3 separate regions of the Homo sapiens genome follow, and regions 1 and 3 are each linked to region 2. Evidence: promoter capture Hi-C in human tissues and cell types (Jung and others, 2019). All regions are on one chromosome and are shown on one strand. The core of a region is centred on a gene start or on the middle of the fragment in contact, and the rest is flanking DNA. Distances in the headings are between cores, read along the strand shown. Region 1 overlaps RAB31 (RAB31, member RAS oncogene family). Region 2 holds the start of TXNDC2 (thioredoxin domain containing 2). Region 3 has its middle 18 kb from the start of LINC02856.

Evidence for each region. The method cuts DNA at HindIII sites, captures the fragments that hold promoters and counts their contacts. A contact is called where the count stands out against the background at its distance.
Region 1: a fragment that was not itself captured here is called in contact with the fragment with the promoter of TXNDC2 in region 2 in 2 of the 25 tissues and cell types used here (adrenal gland and mesenchymal stem cells).
Region 3: a contact is called between a fragment that was not itself captured here and the fragment with the promoter of TXNDC2 in region 2, in 3 of the 25 tissues and cell types used here (heart left ventricle, lymphoblastoid cells and mesenchymal stem cells).

Annotation. Positions count from the first base shown.
Region 1 is chr18:9,755,007-9,759,741 of GRCh38, forward strand. The region is part of intron 1 of RAB31 (RAB31, member RAS oncogene family); the gene reads left to right. Among named protein-coding and RNA genes, the nearest start is that of RAB31, 49 kb to the left of the region's middle. The HindIII fragment of the contact is 7,328 bases long and covers 1-4,735 here.
Region 2 is chr18:9,882,990-9,887,579 of GRCh38, forward strand. TXNDC2 (thioredoxin domain containing 2) reads left to right here and starts at 2,984. Exons shown (of 2, transcript NM_032243.6): 1 at 2,984-3,091; 2 at 3,600-4,590. The coding sequence starts at 3,692. The HindIII fragment of the contact is 24,551 bases long and covers 1-4,590 here.
Region 3 is chr18:9,662,336-9,666,789 of GRCh38, forward strand. No RefSeq gene overlaps it. Among named protein-coding and RNA genes, the nearest start is that of LINC02856, 18 kb to the left of the region's middle. The HindIII fragment of the contact is 4,849 bases long and covers 212-4,454 here.

The DNA of each region.
Region 1 (4,735 bases), core at 154-2,653, 130 kb before region 2:
GGTTTCTGAGGCACAGACCAGGTTTTCCCAACTGTTTTCCCAGCCTGTTTTCCCAACTGTAAGGCGTCACACTAGTAAGTCTGTCATAGAATTAGATTGAAGATTAAATGAGGTGATGCAAATGAAAAGAGTCTAGCATACAGGAAAGCTTAACAGAATGTTAACTATCATCACCATCATTACTAATAACATGATTAGTGGTCTTAATAATTCATAGATATTCATGATGTGGAACTTGGAATCTCATTAGCTCCGTTTTGTCTTGATGTCTGTGACTGCCTTCTCTTGACTTTTCCCTTAGTCACCATTTTTTACTGCATTTTCAACCCAACTGGCCACATGTGCCTGCTTTGTAGTCCAGGTTCCCATCAGTGCCCTTGGCCTTACCCTCTGTGAGCAGGAGCTTCGTACTCTCTAGCAAGGTTTCAGATTAGTTTTCTGTGCTGGAGGAGTTGGAGGCATTTTTGGTAAGCTAAGGCTGTACTTGAGGACTAATGTCACGCTGTCAATTTTAGCTCATTGCTGTGATATCCAGCATAGCAGTAAGGAGCTGATCTGCAGTCACTTGCCCTCCTCTTTGAGCTTCAGCTCTTCTTGGGCTGGGGAACAGTTGAGGACACTGTCCAGGAACCAGAGACTGAATTTCCATGGCCTCATGGCAGCAGTACATGGATTTAGGTTGTTACCAGGAGGTTTGTCCACATGTGAGGCTGTCTCTGTTTTCATTGTCAGTCCCAGCCGTCACACCCCCTCTCTCCTTTGAATGAATGAAAGATGCTAGCGTGCCTCATCTCTGACCTCAGGAGGCCTGGACAATGGAAGAGGAAGTGGGGGCTTTTGCTGCCCTCTGCTCAGAGGCTGCAATGTGGCGTGGATTCTTCTGGCAGCTGTGGTTTAGGCTGCCTTGTGTTTCCTGGTAAAATTTCTTAAACTAAGAGTAATATTTTAGCATTTTTCTCCAAAGAGCATAGATTGAAGATGAGGGCTTAGTAATTTCCCTTGAGTTGGAAATTCATTGATGACTTTTATTTATATTTTGTAATGTCTGTTAAATACTTGCAGAAGTGCTGGATGATTGGAGAAGCTTTAAACCATGAGAAGGTCATGTGAGCATGGTAGTTGTGGGGATGCAGTAGATAGGGAGTTAGGGTTTTCTCAAACTCTGTACTCCCTCCCTTGCTTCCACATTCCTTTCCTCATGCAGTGCGATCAAGTATAGACCCTGATATAGTTAACCTTCATGAGTATAAGACAATTCCTAATACATCATGAGTCAAAAACCATTATTATTTAACTAGAACAGTGTAGAGTCAGGAAAGCAGGTAAGTTGTGGGCAGACTGTAATATCCCCAGCTTATAAATAATGTGGAAGTGTATTGACTGCTTGCTCTTCTCTGTACAGTTTGCAAGTGTGCATATATCTCATTTGATTAAATCACATCTGTTGTAATCTAGTGCCCTGATTAAGAGATTACAGCAGTTAACTGTATTGCACAGGACCTTGGCTTGGCAGTCGGCAAAGCCTTGAGCATTAATTCATATTTGTGAGTGGTCTGAGGATGCTGACTTTTCAAATTTATTATGGTTGGGATTTATGAACTGTTTCTTTTGTCTGCTCTATAGAAGTGAGCATGGAATGTAAGCCAAGCTGTCATTGTGGAGTCTTAGTGTTGATACGATAGACTCTGGTACTTTAAATCAGGCCACTGTCATCTATGATAATGCTTGGCACGTAGTAGGTGCTCAATAAAAATGCAGCAAATGAATGAACAGCTCCTAAATGGCCTTTGTTTCCAGTTTTGCTTTCCTCCAGTCCTCTTAAAATTCCACCACTGTGTGGTCTCATTGGCTCCCATTGCCCTCAGAACAAAGTTCAAACTCCCTAACGAAGTAACTGATGGTGCCCTTGGCTCCAGTTGTATAAGTTTAGGAGTCTGTTCTGATTGATTGGTGCCTTTCTGCACTATGGGTTTAGCTGACATGCTCCTACCAGAGTTTACGTCTTAGCCTGCAGTACATTCATTCCTCTCTTGTTTCTGGGTTATTTCTCCTTGGTGGGCATGTCAGTATGAGTTGGCGTTCAGTCAGGAAGCAGAGCTACTCTGAGTGTTATGGGAAAAGGAATTTATTACAGTAATCCCACTTAATACCAGTGTGGGTGGCTGGGGAAGGGGATGCCTGGGAGTCAGAGCCCGAAGATCAGAGAAACATCTCAAAACAGCAGCACCCGGCATGGTGGATGGTTGTGGCTCTCAAGGAAGCTCTGAGAAGCCAGAGGTGCCCAGCAGGGAAGCCGGCCTGCAGTGGGGACATGGAGCAGGTGCCTGCGGGCAGCCACTGCTCTGCGTAGCTCCTGCCTCTACACCCTACATTGGGAGGACCGCTGTTGGGAGAAGAGTCAGACACAGAAGAGAGGAGTGGGGACAAGTGGGGCTCTGCTGGGAACCTTGTCATCTCTGTGTGCTAAAGACCTTCAGAGAGTAATGCCCAGTCTTTACTTCCTGCAGATTCCTTTTTTGGTCAACTCTAGTCCAGAACTCTATGGAGAAGGGGCTTCTGGGAAGTGAGTGGTGTTCCTAGCTTTAGCCACGTTGAACCTAGGATGATCCAGGACACCGCATGCTGGGTCTGTGTAACAGTGTCTCTGTGGGCTGTGTGGACATGTGTGTGCACATGTATGCATGTGCATGTATGTGTGTGTTCATGTGTGTGCTTCAGATCCCCTTTGGGGAATGTGCAGGAATGTCAGAAGTAGGGAGATAGAGCCACTGGGTTAGGGCAGAGGGCGAGAGGCCCTCTTTGAGGCCACCTGTGGAGGGCTAAGATGACTCCATCCTGGATGCTAATCCATCATGTCGGCTTCTGATTAACTCCAGTTCTGGCAATGCCTCTAAGATTTCTATTTCATCTTCTTCCTTGTGTAAGAGCATGTACTTACCATAAATCTTGTCCTTAGGTCAAAACAACCTTGATGTTATCGTACTTACCGTAAATCTTGCTGTAAAGCAGTTGTTCCGCACATCCCTTCTGAAGCACGGACACTGTCCCCCTGTGGTGCGTAAGCCCTGGGCCTGGGGATGGTAGCACAGGGATCCCCCATTTCGCCTGTGGGCCACCCGAGACGCGGCTCCTGTTCATACGTCCCATTAAATGTTGCTCTCTGAGAAACTGGATTTGTTGCCTCTTTCTTCGACCTCTCAGTTCCCTTGGCTTTTGGCAGTCGGTTTGCAAAATGACCTGCTCACCACGGAACCAGCTCATTCCAGTCAGAGTGGGATCAGCAGGATGGGGGAGTGGAAAGCATAACCCAGGCCCCTCCATCCACATGTTCATGGGGAGGTGCTGGCTTCTTTGCCTCCTGGGGGGAAAAGCCCCAAATGTCTGACCACGCTGACTCACTCGGACAGCCTTCCTTCTCTGTGGCCTCTGCTTGTGTTCTCCTCCCCCCTCTTCCCTTCTCCATTCACCAGTCCTGCCTGTCTCTTTGCTGGGCTAGTGCATCCTTTTGGTTTCAGATTTAGTGCCCCTGCCTCCATGAAGCCTTTCCTGATTGTCAGATGCGGGCAGGTGTCCCTGTGCATCCCCATCACAGCACTTGTCACAGTCGATGCTACTTCCCAGTTTACTTGTCTGTGTTCCTCACTGAACCAGGAGCCTGTGAGGGTAGACACATGGGACTTACAGCAATAGCCATGTGCTTCCCTTCCCAATGTCACACAAGTGAGACATGGTCTGGTGCATCTGATTCTGAGTCTCAGCTGTGTGCGAGTGTGGCATGACCTTTCATCCATCCCCCTGTCTATCTCCCCATGAGGACAAAAGCAAGGGTGACTACAAAAATGACCACCGCTGCCGAGGCCTTTGCTCTGAAAGTGCAGCACAGTGGCTGGGACCGCAAGACAGTGTAACTGACGACGTCTGCAGAATTCAACCAGCGTGCTCTGTTGGGTGGGACAGGAAGTAGGGCAGTAGAAGATTAGACAGAATTGATAATCTTTGAGATCAAGCAGTGTGCGGCTTTGAGATGGAGAAGCAGTAGTAGCTTTGTCCTTCCCAGGGTTTGGACCCAGGGCTGCCTTGGGAATAGACGTTCAGACATGAGGAAGGTGGCCTGAAACATGGCGGCTCGGCTATGTAGAGCGGAGGGCACTTAGAGGACATTTATCTATACAGCGGGTCTTTTTGTTTTTGTTTTTGTTTTGAGACAAGGTCTTGCTCTGTCACTAAGGCTTGAGTGTAGTGCAGCCTCAACCTCCTGGGCTCAAGCAATCCTTCTGTCTCAGCCTCCCATGTACCTTGGACACCAGGCACATGCCACCATGCCTGGCTAATTTTTTGATTTTTCATAAAGACAGTGTCTCGCTATGTTGTCCAGGCTGTTCTCAAACTCCTGGCTTCAAGTAAACCTCCCACCTCAGCCTCCCGAAGTGTTGGGATTATAAGCGTGAGCCACAGCACCTGTCCTATCTAGTAGATCTTAAAACTATTTAGGTCATAGATTGCTTTGCGAATCTCATGAGGGACCCTCTCACCAAAAAAAAAAATTACCTGCTCACAAAGGTTTCCATATGATTTAGGGGGATATTGGATGCCTGAGGTCTGTGATCTGTTTCTAAGCCTCATCCCAGAGGTGTGGTGATGAGGACCAACAAGGTATATGCTTGCCGGAGGTCAAGACAGAGAGACAGGAGGGGTGAAAAGGGCAAGGCTATCCCGAGACCTGTTTCCATACATG
Region 2 (4,590 bases), core at 1,734-4,233:
ACAGATTTCCTCTCTTTTACTAAGACATTCAGGTACAATATCACTTATACATTTCTCTAGAATGGCTCATCCTTCCCATGAGCCTTATCTCAATGGGTTTTGGGGTGGGATGGTGAGGAGCAGGGAAACCGAATTAAGTTTGCCTGTTTGTGGAATTTTGGCTCAAAGAACCCTTTTCCATGGTGTAGCGGTGCAATCTTTCAGAGTTCTCACTTTGTCCATAGTGTCTGGATGCCCAGGGCTACACGGATAAACGTGCCGGGTGCTCTGGTCCCGTGCTGGTTTCCCATGTGAATTGGCTGGTCTGGCCTGGTCCCCAGCCTGAGATCTCTTGAAGGACCCACTGATTCCATTTAGGACAGGGGCATCGTGATGTTACTCACTGCTGGAGTCTGTGATTCCAGTCCTTGCCTCTGGTCACAGATCCTCCTCCTCTGAGTCTTCTTCCTCTAGGCCTCTATCTTTCACCAGTCTCAGAGCACTCCCAGCCACTCTCTGAGGTGTACATCGTTGCTAGATCTTTAACCTCCTCCCTGCAGGCTGTGGGGCCTGCCCCAGGTCCACACATCCATTCTTACCCTCTACTAGGGGCCACGCTGCACGAGGACAGTGCTGTGTTGGATGTGAAGTCCACGTGGGCTCATCCTGGCCTTCCAAGTGGAGCAGGAGGCAGATGCCCCTCTGCTTTCAGCTGCAAGTCTTTTTTTATCTTTTTTTTTTTTCTTTTTTTGAGAGAGTCTTGCTCTGTTGCTCAGGCTAGAGTGCAGTGGCACCATCTCCGCTCACTGCAACCTCTGCTTCCCAGGTTCAAGCGATTCTCCTGCCTCAGCCTCCTGAGTAGCTGGGATTACAGACATTTGTCACCACATCCGGCTAACTTTCGTATTTTTAGTAGAGATCTAAAATCGCATTTTTAGTAGAGTAGCACATCTGATTAGTATCTGTGCTGGCAATCAACCTGGAGAAAGGAGGCCGGGACACAGGCATCTGTCCTCTTGCCTCCACATCTACTGGGATGGCAGGAGTGATGTTTTCACTTCTGCCTCTCAGCGATGGAGTTCCTCTGTGTCCTCATCCACTCCCTTCCAAACAGCAGGGACCCTGTACAAGATAGGGTCCCAGGAAGTAAATTAACTTACCAATGAGCAAGGGCCAAAGATGCTGCCCACTTTGTGCTAATAAAATCTGCTCATGATGGTTTCTGCAAATGATGCCTATCCTCCCCGCTTCACCTCCTTTCTCCTAACACTAAGAAAGAAGACATTGCCCAGATAAGTGCCTGACGTTTATTTTCATCCTCTGCTTTAAAATAGGGCACCATGAAAAACAGTCCTGTCAGCTGTGGAAGCCGTTGGCATTGGAGAGTGAAGACAACCTCCCGTCCTTTAAAATATCACATAAGAAAGGCCCAAAGTCTCCCAGTGAGAGAGGGAAGAGCTTTCTTTGGCAGTAACCGAGGAAACGGAGTGGAAGCATGAGCTCTTCCTGGAACAGGATTCATATCATCAAGAACTACGGATTTGCTGGGCCAGGCATGGTGGCTCACGCCTGTAATCCCAGCAATTTGGGAGGCTGAGGCAGGTGGATCGTTTGAGGTCAGGAGTTAGAGACCAGCCTTGCTAACATGGTGAAACCCTGTCTCGACTAAAAAAAATACAAAAATTAGCCGGGTGTGGTGGTGAATGCCTGTAATCCCAGCTACTCGAGAGGGTGAGGCAAGAGAATTGCTTGAACCTGGGAGATAGAGGTTGCAGTGAGTCGAGATTGTGCCACTGCACTCCAGCCTCGGTGACAGGGCAAGACTGTCTCAAAGAAAAAAAAAAAAGGAACTATGGATTTGCTAAGGCCAATAGTCTCTCTACCCCTTAGTAAAATGTGTTTTGGTATAAAAATCCAGATAATTGAACCATTGCCATTAGATGTTTCGAGGTTTCTATTGACAATGTGGAGGTCTTATCATTTAGATTTCAACACTTTTATTTTTAGTTTTTAGAGACGGGGCCTTGCTCTGTTGCCCAGGCTAGAGTACGATGTAGTGATCACGGCTCACTGCAGTCTTGAACTCACTGGCTCAAGCAAGCCTCCCACCTCAGCTTCCCAAGTAGCTGGGACAGGCGTGTGCCACTGTGCCTGGCTAGGTTTTGTATTTTTTGTAGAGATGGGGTCTTGCTATGTTGCCTAGGCTGATCTCAAACTCCTGGGCTCAAGAAATCCTCCCACCTTGGCCTCCCAAAGTACTGAGATCACGGTGTGAGCCACCATGCCTGACCACTTTCAACACTTATATTGTTGGGGTGAAACTGAAACATATGAGGATTTGTTCAAAGTACATGTAGAGAAGGCAAAATTCCACACTGATTCTTCCTGCCTTGGACTGGATGTGTTGTGCAGAGTGAGGGTGGAAAATGAGCCAGTGGTCCTGAACTAATAAAATAAGTCTCCCTGGGGGACAGGTATTTGGCTTCCCATTCCACAGGATGGGGTAGATGTGGCTTATGGAACCAGGATTATTCACAAAGAGGTTGTTCTCCTGTATGTAAAGGCTGGAAGAGCCGTGTACTTGGATGTGTCTGCATGGGGGAGGGCACAGGCTGGGCTGGTGCGCCTGGGAGGTGGGGGAGGTGGGGAAAGAGGCTGTCTAGCAGGAGCTGAACATTTGACATTGTGGGACACTTTGCAGAGGAGGCTAACATGGTTTCGAGGAGATACTTAGGAGCTGGTCACAATGGGTGAGTCGTAAAGAGAATGTTGGAGCTGGGGGATCCTGGAGAAAGATGATAAGATGGTTGATTCACAGAACCCAGGCTGGACGGGACTTGTGGCGAGCAGTCCAGCACAGCCTCACAGTGCAGAGCATGAGCTTTGGAGCCTGCCCCCACCCTAGCTTTGTGACCTTAAGTGAGCTACATAGCTTCTCATGTGTAAACTACTCATCATAATGGTTCTGACCTCAGTGGTTTGTTGTGTTCTAGGAAATGATGCCAGTGAATGCGTAGTCCCAGCCTCAGCACAGGGGAGCCACCTTGAAGCTCTCAAATATCACTGTTGTGAATACAGAGAGGGAAAACCAACTGTAACGTGCCACCCAAATGTAAGTTTTACTCATATTTTGATGTTAGGATGGATAGCTTGGAAAAAGTTGGAGGGTACGGCCTTTACTATGAGGCATCTATGAAGGATCAGGAATGGATGTAGACAAGGAACTAGGAATGGAAAGTGTTAAAGCTGGAGCCTCTGGAAAACCAGAAATGAGGCTGGGCACTCAGGAAGAAACAAGTGAAGGTGATGCTAATGGTAAGTAGGGGAGGAAAGAGGGTTGCCTTAAAGACCTATGCAGTTAGGGAGCGGGCAGGGTGTTGAACCAAGAAGGGAAAGTTGTAGCTTAAGAACATGTATACAGAAGATACGTGTAACCACACGCTGTTTGTCCTTCTGCTGAATGAGTTTTTCAGATTAATACATCATTCATCAGACTTCATTCGTGATCTCGAAGAGTGACATCAGTCTTCCTTGGAATATGAAGAGAATTTCTTTGGTTCTTCTTTTGCATTTCTATTTGATTTATTTTATTTTATTTTATTTTATGTTTTTTGGTACAGAAAGCTCATTACTAGTCCTGTCCAGCAACGTGCCTCTCCTGGCCCTAGAGTTCTTGGAAATAGCCCAGGCCAAAGAGAAGGCCTTTCTCCCCATGGTCAGCCACACGTTCCACATGCGCACAGAGGAGTCTGATGCCTCACAGGAGGGCGATGACCTACCCAAGTCCTCAGCAAACACCAGCCATCCCAAGCAGGATGACAGCCCCAAGTCCTCAGAAGAAACCATCCAGCCCAAGGAGGGTGACATCCCCAAGGCCCCAGAAGAAACCATCCAATCCAAGAAGGAGGACCTCCCCAAGTCCTCAGAAAAAGCCATCCAGCCCAAAGAGAGTAACATCCCCAAGTCCTCAGCAAAACCCATCCAGCCCAAGCTGGGCAATATTCCCAAGGCCTCAGTGAAGCCCAGCCAGCCCAAGGAGGGTGACATCCCCAAGGCCCCAGAAGAAACCATCCAATCCAAGAAGGAGGACCTCCCCAAGTCCTCAGAAGAAGCCATCCAGCCCAAAGAGGGTGACATCCCCAAGTCCTCAGCAAAACCCATCCAGCCCAAGCTGGGCAATATTGCCAAGACCTCAGTGAAGCCCAGCCAGCCCAAGGAGAGTGATATCCCCAAGTCCCCAGAAGAAACCATCCAGCCCAAGGAGGGTGACATCCCCAAGTCCTCAGCAAAGCCCATCCAGCCCAAGCTGGGCAATATTCCCAAGGCCTCAGTGAAGCCCAGCCAGCCCAAGGAGGGTGACATCTCCAAGTCCCCAGAAGAAGCCATCCAGCCCAAGGAGGGTGACCTCCCCAAGTCCCTAGAGGAAGCCATCCAGCCCAAGGAGGGTGACATCCCCAAGTCCCCAGAAGAAGCCATCCAGCCCAAGGAGGGTGACATCCCCAAGTCCCTAGAGGAAGCCATCCAGCCTAAGGAGGGTGACATCCCCAAGTCCCCAGAAGAAACCATCCAGCCCAAGAAGGGTGACATCCCCAAGTCCCCAGAAGAAGCCAT
Region 3 (4,454 bases), core at 1,386-3,885, 220 kb before region 2:
AGCATGGTCAGGTTTTGGTGAGAGCCCTCTTTCAGGAGGCAGACAGCTGACTTCTCATTGTATCCTCACGTGGAGGAAAGAAGAGGGCCAGCTCCCGGCGCGGTGGCTCATGCCACCACTTTGGGTCATCCAAGCACTTTGGGAGACCGAGGCAGGTGGGTCACCTGAGGTAGGGTGTTTGAGATCAGCCTGGCCAACATAGTGAAACCCGTCTCTACTAAAAATACAAAAATTAGCTGGGCATGGTGGCAGGTGCCTGTAATCCCAGCTACTCAGGAAGCTGAGGCATGAGAATTGCTTGAATCCGGGAGGTGGAGGTTGCAGTGAGCTGAGATCGTGCCACTACACTCCAGCCTGGGAGACACAGCAAGACTCCATCACAATAAATAAATAAATAAATAAATAAAGAAGAGGGCCAGCTCTCTGGCTTCTTCTAATCCTATCATGGGGGCTCCACCCTCATGATCTAAATACTTCCCAAAGGCTCCACTTCCTGGTACCATCCTACTAGGAGTTAAGTTTCAACTTATGAATTTTGGGGGTACACAAATATGCATTATTGTAAAATGGCATGGTACTATTTATAATTGTGAAAAAAATGCTACAACTTAAATGTCCAATAATAGAGACAAAATTTAAGTAAATATAATTATGAAGTTATATAGCTATATAGAAAAGAGTTTTAAATATGCTATTTAAAAGATAATACAATTCTATATAGACACGGTCACATCTGTTAATAGATTCCAAGAAGGAAATCGGAAGGAAGCAGGAATGTGACCACATAAATCTGAAATTCACAAGAAGAATAAATAGATGCAAATAGTAATGTCAATTCTGAAAAAAAACAAAGAAGCAGGACTACTCTAAAACATGTTATAAAGGGTTCTGGTGATTATTGCTGCATAATATATCACTCCAAACGCAGTATCGCAAGAAACAATAGTGATTTTACGTCCCATGTCTTATGAATCTGGAGGGTGGCCGGGCTGGGCTGGGTGGCTCTTCCTTGAGGTTCTGCATGTGGCTGCAGTAAGGTGGGAGCTGGGCTAGTATGGCTAAAGACTTGCTCCCTCCCAGGCTGGGCAGCTGTGTCCGCTGGGAAGACTCAAAGGGCTGAGGGTGGACCTGCTGGGTCCCGGGCTGCCCCTGCCTCTGTGTGGTTCCAACATGGCAGTTTCAGGGCTGCTGCGCTTCTTACATGTGGCTCGTGCTCAAACGCCCGTGTCTCAAGGGAGCCTAGAACAAGCTTTGTGACCTTCTCTAGGCTAGTCTCAAAAGTCGCATGAGTCACCTCCACTGCAAAGTACTCCTGAGGCATTCAAAAGGGCCTGTCCAGTTTGAAGGGGAGGGAACACAGCCTCTCCATCTTTCTGGAGGAATGTGAAGGTTCTAGAAGGTTCACGTGGGATGGGAAATATTATTGCAGCCATTTTTGCAAAAGACAGCCACATAAAACTAGAATAATTAAATAGCATTGTAGCAGTGAAAAATGAAACTGATCAATGACACAAAAAAAGCCAAAAAACTGGACCGAATATATTTACATTTTAATATGTGATTAAAATCACATCAATCTCAACTTAATGAGATAGAAAAATTATTCAATTAATCATGCTATGACAATAGATGCATTAAGGAATTCAATGTTAAAAAAGTAAATCGAGGCCGGGTGCAGTGGCTCATGCCTGTAATCCCAGCACTTTGGGAGTCTGAGGTCCAGGAGTTTGAGACCAGCCTGGGTAATGTAGTGAGATCCTGTTGCTACAAAAAGTAAACATTTAAAAATTTAAAACCATGTAAAAGGCTTAAAAAAATTAAAACACGGAGAGGGGTAGGCCACTTCAGAAGCTTAAACGTTGTGGGAGAAATCCCACAGGAACATTTTAAACAATTACATAATTATGATAAATGTTTAAGTCCAAAAAAACCGCATTTTCCAAACAACAAAGGAAATAAATTACAAATTCAGAGATATATTCTAAGTAAATATGAAAGAAAAATAGTTCATATTTTATTCAGAATTCATTCACATGGAACAAGAACAGACAATTTGCAATAGAGGACGTTTTTAAAAGCCTTTTAAAAAATTGTTCTAAAATACATAATACATAAACTACATAATATAAAATTTACCTTTTTAGCCATTTCTAAGTGCACAGTTGAATGGCATTATGTACATTGACACTGTTGTGCAACCATCATCACCATCCACCTCCAGAACTTTCCATGTTTCTAAATTGAAACTCTGTACCCATTAAACAATAACTGCCATCCCCACTGCCCCTAGCCCCTGACAACCACCTTCCTACTCTCTGTCTCCGTGAATTTGATTACTCATATACCTCGTATAAGTGGAATCACAAAATATTTGTCCTTTTGATGTCTGGCTTCTTTCACTTAGCGTAATGTCTTCAATGTCCATCCACATTGTAGCATGTGTCTGAATTCCCTTCTTTTGAAGGCTGAATAATATTCCTCTGTATACGAATCCACCACATTGAGTTTATCCATGCATCCATCAAAGGACACCTGAGTCGTCTCCACCTTTTGCTACTGTGAATAATGCTGTGGAAAAATAAATGGAATGCTTCCATCACTATCTTATTGCCAGTGGGAGCTAATTGCTCCCTTTTCTTAAAGACGTGATTATAGTTTGTCTTTTTTCCTTTCTTCTCCTTGATATTGGATGTGACCTTGTTGGCTGATGTACTAATGTCTCTAAGGTGCAGAACACTGAAACAGGATCTCAGCAGAGCTGGAGGAGCATGGGCCAGGCCTGTGATCTGGCTTTGGGGACTATGGCTTCGCGACGTGACTTTCACAGGCAGCTGCTGAGTCTAACTTGGGGTTATGTTTTTTGAGAGAGTGAGGGGTGCATAGGAGTTTAGGTCAGTTGTGTTAGGGGCGTTTCTAAACAGCTGGAGAAAGGGGTGTGTATGTAAAATATAGAAGGCTCTTTCTCAAGGTCTTTCTCCAGGGTCCATGTCTGAATGATTTTGTATAAACTGGACCAAGTAGTCTCCGTTTCTTTTGTAATTTTAAACTTGGAATGAAGAGACCCAGTGTGCAGTGAAGAATGAACCTTACTCAAAGAGAAGACTGGCCTTTGCCCTCAGCTACTGGGAGGTGGTTTCTAGGCCACTGGAATGTCCTGCCTTTGTCTGGCCGGAGGTTTTCACCACCAGACAGTCTACCAATGTGATTTATGATGGGGGATGTGGGCTACATAGGATGGATTCTGTCTCCAGAAGGGACTGGAGACTAAAGTTACCAGACTGATCTCCAGGAGGGGGTAGAGACTACAGGCCAGCCATGTGGTCAGTATGCTATGCTATGGAGCACCAATGGAAACAGTAGGCACCCAGGCTCTGGCGAGCTTTCCTGGTTAGCCACACTCCATGTGCATTATTCCATCATGGCTGGAAGGAGCTCACTGTGCTCATAACAACACAGAGAGGATGGTCAGAAGCTCCACAGGCGGACCCCTTTCTGGACTCTGCCCCACGAGTCTCTGCCCTTGGCAGATCTTAATCCATTTCCTTTCTCTGTAAGAAATCATACCATGAGTATAACAGCTTTTGGTGAGCACTGTGAGTCCTTCCAGCTAGTGAATTATCAAAACTGAGGGTGGTTTTGGGAACACCCCCCCAAACTTTCAACTGGTGTCAGAGTAAGGACAGTCTCTTGTGGGGACTGTCCTCTCTAATTGCAGTGGTTAAGTGTGCACCCTGCTTCTGGAAGTCAATGTTGCTGAGTCTCACAGAGGGCGACTCTCTATGGAGAAGCCCACAAAGCCTGCTGCTGGGGTGCTCAGAGCTGCCCTCATGTCTCCACTTTCTGCTTCTCTCTTCCTATGATTCTGTACTTATCCAGAGCTTCCCAATAAATTATATACTTTCTTAAGCTGTCCCAAATTGGGTTCTGTTATCTGCAACTAAAATATTCTTAACTGCTCTGGATACATAAAGGGACAGAAATGATGTGTAAAGGGACAGCACCAAGCATTTATCCTGCCTCCCTAATGAACTGTATTTCAGAGTGAACAGTTGATGGGAGAAGTGCTTCTTTTTAAAATAAAATTATTTATGGTTTTTAATAACAGAGACGGGGTCTCAATATGTTGCTCAGGTTAGTCTTAAACCCTGGGATAAAGCAATCCTCCAGCCTCAGCCTCCCAAAGTACTGGGATTACAGGCGTGAGACACCACACCTGGCCAAAGAAGTTCTTCTTTATAGAAGAATCAAAGTTAATCATTGCAGGGGATGTGAGGCAGATAGAATTTGAAAATTACCATGTTACCTCTGCTAATGAAATAGTAGATAGAGGCAATGATGAAGCCTGTCTTCTAAAGCCGGTAGGTGAACAGGCAGTGGGGAACAGGTCAGGCTAACGACAATGAACCACTAATTGTCAGACAGACAAGAAGGCACTTCCTCATGAGATGCAATAG